2 separate regions of the Homo sapiens genome follow, and region 1 is linked to region 2. Evidence: promoter capture Hi-C in 16 types of primary human blood cells and fetal thymus (Javierre and others, 2016). All regions are on one chromosome and are shown on one strand. Each heading gives the region's core, a stretch centred on a gene start or on the middle of the fragment in contact. The rest is flanking DNA. Distances are from core to core; before and after follow the strand shown. Region 1 has its middle 10 kb from the start of MIR4448. Region 2 holds the start of HTR3E-AS1 (HTR3E antisense RNA 1).

Region 1 (4,856 bases), core at 912-3,411, 210 kb before region 2:
CACAAGTCATTCTTTGTTTTTGCTTTTGTTTGTTTGTTTGTTTGTTTGTTTGTTTTTGAGACAGTTTCACTCTTGGATCCCAGGCTGGAGAGCAGTGGTGCGATCTTGGCTCACTGCAACCTCTGCCTTCTGGGTTCAAGCGATTCTCCTGCCTCAGCCTCCCGAGTAGCTGGGATTACAGGTGCCTGCCACCATGCCCGGGTAATTTTTGTATTTTTAGTAGAGATGGGGTTTCACCATGTTTGCCAGGTTGGTCTTGAACTTCTGACCTCAAGTGATCCACCTGCCTCGGTCTCCCAAAGTGCTGGGATTACAGGTGTGAGCCACCATGCCCAGCCACAAGTCATTCTTTTTTAATAAACAAGGCTTGTCTGGAGATGCAAGGATTCAAAATTTAGGGACCCTTGTGTGGAAACTAAAGTGGGTCTTTGGTGAAGAATTTGCTGGAAACAGTTATATGGTCTGCTGGCTTTGCTGTATTGAGATGGTGAGATCTTTCTCTGCCCCAGGTCTGCAGAGAACTGCAGTTCTTCCTTCTGGTCAGGAGAGGGCAGGAGAAGGCAGAAAATAAGCTGCCCCCGCTTCACTTTTTTTTTTTTTTTTTTTTTTTTTGGTTTACCAGTCCCCGGCATCTAGAGTATTCGCATTTGCATGCATTATTATATTCATAGTTTTGCTCGAAAGTTTGCCTTTTCCTCTGAACCTAGTTAGCTGCTGCCTTGTGAGGCTTGATTCCCCAATATTAACTTTGTGGACTGATTTAATGCCAAACTTAACCAATCTTATAAAATCTTCGCCTGCCAAAGCATAACTAACCTAATTTAAGAATTGAACTACCCAAACTGAGCTACCTCTGTAGAATCCTTGCTAAGTCTATTCTCCAGTGTCACCCCACAGAGCTTGTGTTAGGGGCAACCATGAGCAGCTGAGCTGCATGAACCCCTGGTCCTCCTCTTTTCTAACTTTGCAGGAACCAAAAGAGACTGAGGAAGGACTTCATGGGGGACAGGCCTCCAGACCCCCAGTGGCTACAGGCCATCCTCCCTAGGACCAGGGCTGGGGCTGCTCAGGCGGGGCACTGCGCAGATCTCCTGGGGCTGGGGTTGCCAAGTGCCGCCAAAGATGTACTCCAGCTTGAGCCCCGGGCTCCCTTCTGGCAGTTGGAACCGAAAGGTCCTGAGGAGGGTGGCAAACATCAGGAAGAGCTCCATTTGAGCCAGCTGGTCTGCTGGGTAGACACGATGCCCTGGAAACAGAGAGAAAAGTCAGAGGTGGCAGCTGTCCCTGTGTCTGTCCCACCACAGCCCCACCCACCACCCAGGATCCAGCTCTGTGCCTAGTACCTGCAGAGAATGGCAGGAAGGCCTCATTGGCCACAAAGTTTCCATCCTTGTCCGAGAAGTGGCCAGGGTTGAACTGTCGAGGGGTCTCCCAGCACTCAGGGTCATAGAGCACAGAGGCCAGGTTGGGTAAGATGATGGTGCCCTGCAGAGAGATGCTGGTGTGGCTCAGGGAGCCTCAGATGGTACCCAGTACCCAGCCCTGACACTGAGCCACAGTGAGCTTGGAGAATACCCAGTGTGTTGGTGGGAGTAGTCCAGGGGCCTTGAGGAGACTCAGCAGCCGGCCCTCAGGCTGCCCTTCCTCCAGGCTCACATCAGTGAAGGAGCTGAGCAGGACACCCTCCTGGCTAAGGACTGCCCAGCTTTGTCCTGAAGACTCCCAGCCACGTCTAGGGACATGAAGCCATTGCCTCCTACAGAGAAGGCCAACAGCTGGGGGCATGTCTGGAAGGGGCCAAGGACAGCCCAGGACAATACACACTGGGGCAGGGGATGTGTGCACACGTGGGTGTTAAGAGGAAGAGACAGAACGAGGAGAAATGGAATGGCAAACAAGCAGAGAAAGAGGAACTGAGTGATGGAAAGACAGAGAGGAGACAGCAAGCTTCACTCTTTAGGGTTGGGGAGAGGAAAACATGAACCATAAGCCCAACTCTAACCTTCAACCTAACCCCAACCCTCACCTTCCCCCAAACCCAAACCCAAATCTTCCCTCTCACCCTCACCTCAGCCCTCACTCTATCTCAAAGGAGAAGTGAGTGATTAGAAAGAGAATCAGACCAAGCAGATGGGAGCAGGGTAACATCTGCTCCTTACCATGTGGGCCCTGGGCTGACCGGAAACAGCATAAGGAGGCCAAAGTGGAGCCAGGATGGGGTCGGTTATGGTCCCCAGCCCTAGAACACTCAGCTCTGGGATTCCGGGGAAGGCCTCATACCCCAGGGCTCATTTACCAAATACCACAAAATTAAACCAGCTATCCCTGTAGAGACCAGAGGGCTGACTACAGAATTCTTGATTCTGACCAAAGAAAAAGCTTGAAATTAAAAAAAAAAAAAAAAGCTTAGCGAGTTTGAAGCCTGCATTCTAAACAGAAACCAATAAAGAATGCAGAAATGGAGCAGCAGATGCTGGCTGGTCGCAGTGGCTCACACCTGTAATCCCAGCACTTTGGGAGGCCAATCAGGGCGGATCGCTTGAGGTCAGGAGTTTGAGACCAGCCTGGCCAACACGGTGAAACCCCATCTCTACTAAAAATACAAAAATTAGTCGGGCGTGGTGGCAAGTGCCTATAGTCTCAGCTACTCGGGAGGCTGAGGCAGGCAAAGGTTGTAGTGAGCCAAGATCACGCCTCTGCATTCCAGCCTGGGCGACAGAGCAAGATTCCATCTAAAAAAACAAAACAACAACAACAAAAAAAAAAACAGAATGCAGAAATTGTTTTCAGGGGAAATTGTTCTTTTTTGCCGTTGTTGCAGTACGGCACGCTTAGGCAAGGTGCCTCATCCTAGCCATGTGTACCAATAGGGCACCCAGACTTGCTCACTCTGTAGCTTCAAGCAGAGGTGTTGGGGAGGCCTGTGTTCTTGCTGCTGCCTGAGTGAGCTATAGATTTCCCAGTTCTAGTCATGGGAATTCCCCCATTTTCTCTACCTGGGATTAAGTAACCTCTGCATTGCAACGGTTCTTACTAATCACCTTCAGAGGAGGAGGCTCCTAGCAAGATGCTCTTTTCCCTCCAGAATTATTTGTGTCCTTTTTTGGGTGATGTTCTGGCCTCCTTGCAAAGGAGGTTCTCAGCTCATGGAACAGGTTCAGAGCACAGCCTATCCAGTATGCAAAAAGGACAGCGCCCCGCCCCCCGCAACAACCGCCCTCCACTTCCCCAGACTGTAGAACCATCTACCTGCTGGGTACCTCCTGGGGTCGCTGTGCCAGCTTCTGCCCAGTAAATGGCAATTTGGAATTCGCAATCAAATAGAATGTCTGAGAAGAGAGACAGGCTGGAAGTGCAACCGTCGTATCAGGGACTATTGCTGTTGTCACGATCACTCAGCTGATGAAATGGTTAGGAACAGTTTAGGAATATCTGTAACATTTAATGATCTACTGTCAAGCTTTGATTCCACTTTCAGCAGACATCTCTCGTCCAAGTTGTAAAAGCTCAATATTGATTTCAGCTCGTTAATGGGCCCCTGGAGCCTTTATCACAGAACAAGTCCTAGAATCAAATTGGCAGGAATGAGCTCTTAATAAGGAAATTTCTAATCCCAAACGGCATAACACAGAGCAGTACCCTGGCCCCCTCTTTTTAACTTAAGTTGGCACAGCTTCTAGACAACCTGGGCCTGGGTCCTTCTGCCACGCCAGCAGCAAGATGACCTGATGCCCTGGTCCTATCCACTTTCCCAGAGACTCTTGACAAACCTGTAAACTTGCTGGCCAATTTCTGCCAAGGACAGAATGACAGTGTAAAACATCTCCATTGAACACATTGGTTCACTTACCTAGAGTGGCATTTTCGTATAAATACAAACAGCAGGGCATATGGTAGGAAAAGAAAACACTTTAGAGTCAGAGGGACATGCATTTGAAACTCAGCTAAGTCACTTACTAGCTGTGTTTGGGCAGTTTCTTAAGCTGCCTATGCTGAAGTTTCTCTATCTATGGAAAAGAAACAGCAACAAAGCGTCCGAAGGATAGGGCTTCTGTGAAGAAAAAAATCTGTGGAGGAAGGAACCTCAAGTCTGGGCAAATTAATAATAAGTTAATAATGGGGCTGGGCATGGCGGCTTATGCCTGTAATCCCAGCACTTTGAGAGGCAGAGGCAGGAGTTCAAGACCAGCCTGGCCAACCTGGTGAAACCCCGTCTTTACTACAAATTAAAAAAAAAATAAAAATAATAAAAATTAGCTGGACGTGGTGGCACGTGCCTGTAATACCAGCTACTTGGGAGGATGAGGTGGGAGAATTGCTTGAGCCCCGGAGGTGGAGGCTGCAGTGAGCTGAGATCACACCACTGTACTCCAGGGCAGTACTCGGGGCAGAGCCAAAGCTCCTTTCCGAGGAAAGTCTCAGGGCTCCCGCCACCACCTCTATGTACAGAGGCATCACCCTGCACCAGGGCACCAAGATGAGTCGCTCTGTTTCATTTTCATTAAAATGGCAACCTCACCACCTACACATGTTGGTATGTTACCTGTTGCGGGAAGTCAGGGACCCCGAACGGAGGGACTGGCTGAAGCCATGGCAGAAGAACCTGGATTGTGAAGATTTCACGGACATTTATTAGTTCCCCAAATTAATACTTTTATAATTTCTTATGCCTGTCTTTACTGCAATCTCTAAACATAAATTGTAAAGATTTCATGGACACTTATCACTTCCCCAGTCAATACCCTTGTGATTTCCTATGCCTGTCTTTACTTTAATCTCTTAATCCTGTCAGCTGAGGAGGATGTATGTTGCCTCAGAACCTTGTGATAATTGCATTAACTGCACAAATTGTAGAG
Region 2 (4,657 bases), core at 1,758-4,257:
AAGGTATGAACGCCAGGCAGAGTGGCGCATGCCTGTAATCCCAGCACTTTGGGAGGCCAAGGTGGGTGGATTGCTTGAGCCCAGGAGTTTGAGGCCAGCCTGGGCAACACGGCAAAACCTCGTCTCTACAAAAAAATACAAAAATTAGCTTGGTATGGTGTTTCACGTCTGTAGTCCCAGCTACTGGGGAGCCTGAGATGGGAGGATCACTTGAGCCTGGGAGGTCAAGGCTGCAGTCAGCCATAATTGTGCCACTGCACTGTAGCCTGGGCAACAGAGTGAGACCCTATCACACACCGGGGCCTGTTGTGGGGTGGGGGGAGGGGGGAGGGATGGCATTAGGAGATATACCTAATGTTAAATGATGAGTTAATGGGTGCAGCACACCAATATGGCACATGTATACATATGTAACTAACCTGCATGTTGTGCACATGTACCCTAAAACTTAAAGTATATAAAAAAAAAAAAAAGCTGGGCACAGTGGCTCACACCTGTAATCCCAGCACTTTGGGAGGCCGAGGCCGGTGGATCGCCTGAACTCAGGAGTTCAAGACCACCCTGGGCAACATGGTGAAACACCGTCTCTACTAAAATACAAAAAATTAGCCAGGCATGGTGACATGTGCCAGTAGTCCCAGCTACTCGGGAGGCTGAGGCACAAGAATCGCTTGAGCCAGGGAGACAGAGGTTGCAGTTGGCCGAGATCACACCACTGCACTCCAGCTTAGGCTACAGAGTGAGACTGCATCTCAAAAAAAAAAAAGAAAAGAAAACCTTGTTTCTTGGGAATTTAAAATTAAACTTCTAAATATTTGAGGCAAAGGAGAAAATAAAGCAATTAAGTAGAAATTACGAAGTAATTAGAAATGAAAATTATACATATGAAAATCTATGGAATGTAGTCAAAGCATAACCCAGTGGAAAATTTATATCTTAATTGCATTGATAAGAAAACAAGGTGTGTGGGAGGATGGGGGGAAATAAAAGCAAATGAATTGAGTTTCCAACTTGAAAAGCCTGCTTGATGGCTGGGCTTGGTGGTTCACACCTATAATCCCAGCTCTTTGGGAGGCCTAGGCAGGTGGATCACTTGAGGTCAGGAGTTCGAGACCAGCCTGGCCAACATGATGAAACTCCATCTCTACCAAAAATATAAAAAAATCAGCCGGGTGGTGGCCGGGCGCGGTGGCTCACGCCTGTAATCCCAGCACTTTGGAAGGCCGAGGCGGGTGGATCATGAGGTCAGGAGATCAAGACCATCCTGGCTAACACGGTGAAACCCCGTCTCTACTAAAAATACAAAAAATTAGCCAGGCGTGGTGGCAGGCGCCTGTAGTCCCAGCTACTCGGGAGGCTGAGGCAGGAGAATGGCCTGAACCCAGGAGGCAGAGGTTGCAGTGAGCCAAGATCGCGCCACTGCACTCCAGCCCAGGCAACAGTGCAAGACTCCATCTCAAAAAAAAAAAAAAAAAAAAATTAGCCAGATGGTGGCACACACCTGTAATCCCAGCTACTCAGGAGGCTGAGGCAGGAGAATCGCTTGAACCCGAGAGGTGGAGGTTGCAGTGAGCCGAGATCACGCCACTGCACTCCAGCCTGGGTGACAGAGCAAGACTCCATCTCAGAAAAAAAAAAGAAAGAAAAAGAAAAGAAAAAAGAAAAAAAGAAAAGCCTGCTTGGAGGAAAGGAAGGAAGGAGCTGGAGAAAGATAATACAATCATCTAACCTCACTCTCAAAGTGTGGTTCCCAGACCACCAGCGCTGGCTGATCAAAATTTATGAAGAATGGTCCCAGGCAGGTTCGATTTTATCTATAATTCTCATTTCTTGAAAAAAAAGCAAGTAAATTTAATAAAATATTAATGCCACAAAGTTGGGTTGTAAATACATAGATGTTTGTCACAGCATTTTATATATTTTTCTATATGCTTGAAGTATTTCATAACTTTTTTTTTTAAAGAAGAAATTAAAAGGCAGGAGACTCACCTCTCCTCCACCTGGGCTCTAGGTTTGGGATAACCCATTTATCAGCTGGAACCCAGAGGAATGTGAGGGCATCACGAAGATGAGTATGGCAGCCAAGAACCTGTGGCTCCCAGACATTTTCATCATTGAACTGTGCGTATCAAGGGCTGGTCAGAGGGAAGTCCCATCTCCTGGTAGCCACAGAGATCACAGTTTACCATTGGGGCCACTGTAAGTGGTCTTTAGATGGCTAAGAAACAACCAGAGAGATAAGAAGAGAAACTGAGCCAGGCGCAGTGGCTAATGCCTGTAATCCCAGCACTTTGGGAGGCCAAGGTGGGTGGATCACTTCAGTTCAGGAGTTTGAGACCAGCCTGGGCAACATGGTGAAACCTCATCTCTTAAAAAAAAAAAAAAAAAAAAAATTAGCCAGGCCTGGTGGTGCGCCTGTAGTCCCAGCTACTTGGGAGGCTGAGGCTGAGACAGGAGGATCATTTGAGCCCAGGACATGGAAGTTGCAGTGAGCTGAGAGCATGCCACTCTACTCCAGCCTGGGTGACAGAGCAAGATCCTGTCTCAAAAAAAAAAAAAAAAAAAAAAGAGAGAGAGAAACTGCAGCACCTGCCTCTTGCGTTATCTCTCCTCCAGCATGGATGTGGATAAGACCCCAAAAGGCCTCACAGCATATGTAAGTAATGAAGGTCGCATCAGGTATAAGAAACCCATGAAGGTGGACAGTATCTGTAACCTGGACATCTTCTACTTCCCCTTCGACCAGCAGAACTGCACACTCACCTTCAGCTCATTCCTCTACACAGGTAAGTTGCAGTGAGGTCTCAGGGATGGGGTGAATGAGAGCAACCAACAAATATAAAGAAACTATGAGTAAATGGTGACCAAGGAGTATGGGTGGGGAGAAGAATAAGGCTCTATGGATGCTAAAATATTTTCCATAAAGGCAGAACCCAAGTCTGTCTTGTTCCTTACCATCCCAAGCTCCTGGCAAGTTTCCTGGCATGTGGGAGGCACTCAAAAATATTTGTTGAAAGAAAGGATGGAAAAAGAGTGCAGTTGAGCCACCAGGAAACTATCTCCTTGAAAAATGATTCAGATGGTTCTCATTTTCAGTGGACAGCATGTTGCTGGACATGGAGAAAGAAGTGTGGGAAATAACAGACGCATCCCGGAACATCCTTCAGACCCATGGAGAATGGGAGCTCCTGGGCCTCAGCAAGGCCACCGCAAAGTTGTCCAGGGGAGGCAACCTGTATGATCAGATCGTGTTCTATGTGAGCTTGGAGGCTCTTACTCTTTCCTTCCTCCCGCACTTTTACCCTTGCCTAGAATGTCCATCAAATATGTATCTCCCAAGTTTCAGGGTCTCCCAATGTTACCCTCTCTCCTGGCTTCCCAGCCTCATTCTTCATCCTAAAGCTCAGGGCTCTGGCCTAACTGTCTCTTTGCAGGTTCTATACCAGATTCTAAAGCTGCATTCCCCACAGCTCCAGATCCCAGGGTGATATCAGGCCAAAGAAAAAGGCAGAGACAGAAATTGTCACTGCTATTCCTGGATTTGAGGGTTCCTCTGACCCCATAACTACTTACCACCCTCTCCTACCCCACCAGGTGGCCATCAGGCGCAGGCCCAGTCTCTATGTCATAAACCTTCTCGTGCCCAGTGGCTTTCTGGTTGCCATCGATGCCCTCAGCTTCTACCTGCCAGTGAAAAGTGGGAATCGTGTCCCATTCAAGATAACGCTCCTGCTGGGCTACAACGTCTTCCTGCTCATGATGAGTGACTTGCTCCCCACCAGTGGCACCCCCCTCATCGGTATGGCTCCTCCCACCTTTTGGAAGAGAAGGGTGGGAACTAACTCAGGAAGGGAGGTATTTTGGAAAAAGGAGGCCGTATGCCTGCCAGGGTGGGATTGGAAGAGAAGAAATTCTAGGTGGTGCCTCTGGCCCTCACTAGGCCCCCCTTCCCTCCAGGTGTCTACTTCGCCCTGTGCCTGTCCCTGATGGTGGGCAGCCTGCTGGAGACCATCTTCATCACCCACCTGCTGCACGTGGCCACCACCCAGCCCCCACCCCTGCCTCGGTGGCTCCACTCCCTGCTGCTCCACTGCAACAGCCCGGGGAGATGCTGTCCCACTGCGCCCCAGAAGGAAAATAAGGGCCCGGGTCTCACCCCCACCCACCTGCCCGGTGAGGGAAGTCACATTCCTCTTCCCCCACCTCCACTTCTCTGCTCCTGCCTCCTTCCCTGTCTCCCTCCCTCCACAGGTGACATTTGCAGCCCATGGCTGAGTCTCTGTCTTTCTGTAGGTGTGAAGGAGCCAGAGGTATCAGCAGGGCAGATGCCGGGCCCTGCGGAGGCAGAGCTGACAGGGGGCTCAGAATGGACAAGGGCCCAGCGGGAACACGAGGCCCAGAAGCAGCACTCAGTGGAGCTGTGGTTGCAGTTCAGCCACGCGATGGACGCCATGCTCTTCCGCCTCTACCTGCTCTTCATGGCCTCCTCTATCATCACCGTCATATGCCTCTGGAACACCTAGGCAGGTGCTCACCTGCCAACTTCAGTCTGGAGCTTCTCTTGCCTCCAGGGACTGGCCAGGTCTCCCCCCTTTCCTGAGTACCAACTATCATATCCCCAAAGATGACTGAGTCTCTGCTGTATTCCATGTATCCC

Evidence for each region. The method cuts DNA at HindIII sites, captures the fragments that hold promoters and counts their contacts. A CHiCAGO score of 5 or more calls a contact.
Region 1: a contact is called between a fragment that was not itself captured here and the fragment with the promoter of HTR3E-AS1 in region 2, in 1 of 17 cell types (M1 macrophages). The highest score is 5.1, in M1 macrophages.

The regions. Positions count from the first base shown.
Region 1 is chr3:183,894,872-183,899,727 of GRCh38, forward strand. It overlaps the pseudogene CYP2AB1P. Among named protein-coding and RNA genes, the nearest start is that of MIR4448, 10 kb to the left of the region's middle. The HindIII fragment of the contact is 432 bases long and covers 1,946-2,377 here.
Region 2 is chr3:184,102,171-184,106,827 of GRCh38, forward strand. HTR3E-AS1 (HTR3E antisense RNA 1) reads right to left here and starts at 3,008. Exons shown (of 3, transcript NR_133658.1): 1 at 2,956-3,008; 2 at 1,990-2,218. HTR3E (5-hydroxytryptamine receptor 3E) reads left to right here. Exons shown (of 9, transcript NM_001256613.2): 4 at 2,012-2,121; 5 at 2,617-2,786; 6 at 3,097-3,257; 7 at 3,595-3,799; 8 at 3,958-4,173; 9 at 4,294-4,657. The coding sequence ends at 4,523. The HindIII fragment of the contact is 6,162 bases long and covers 1-4,657 here.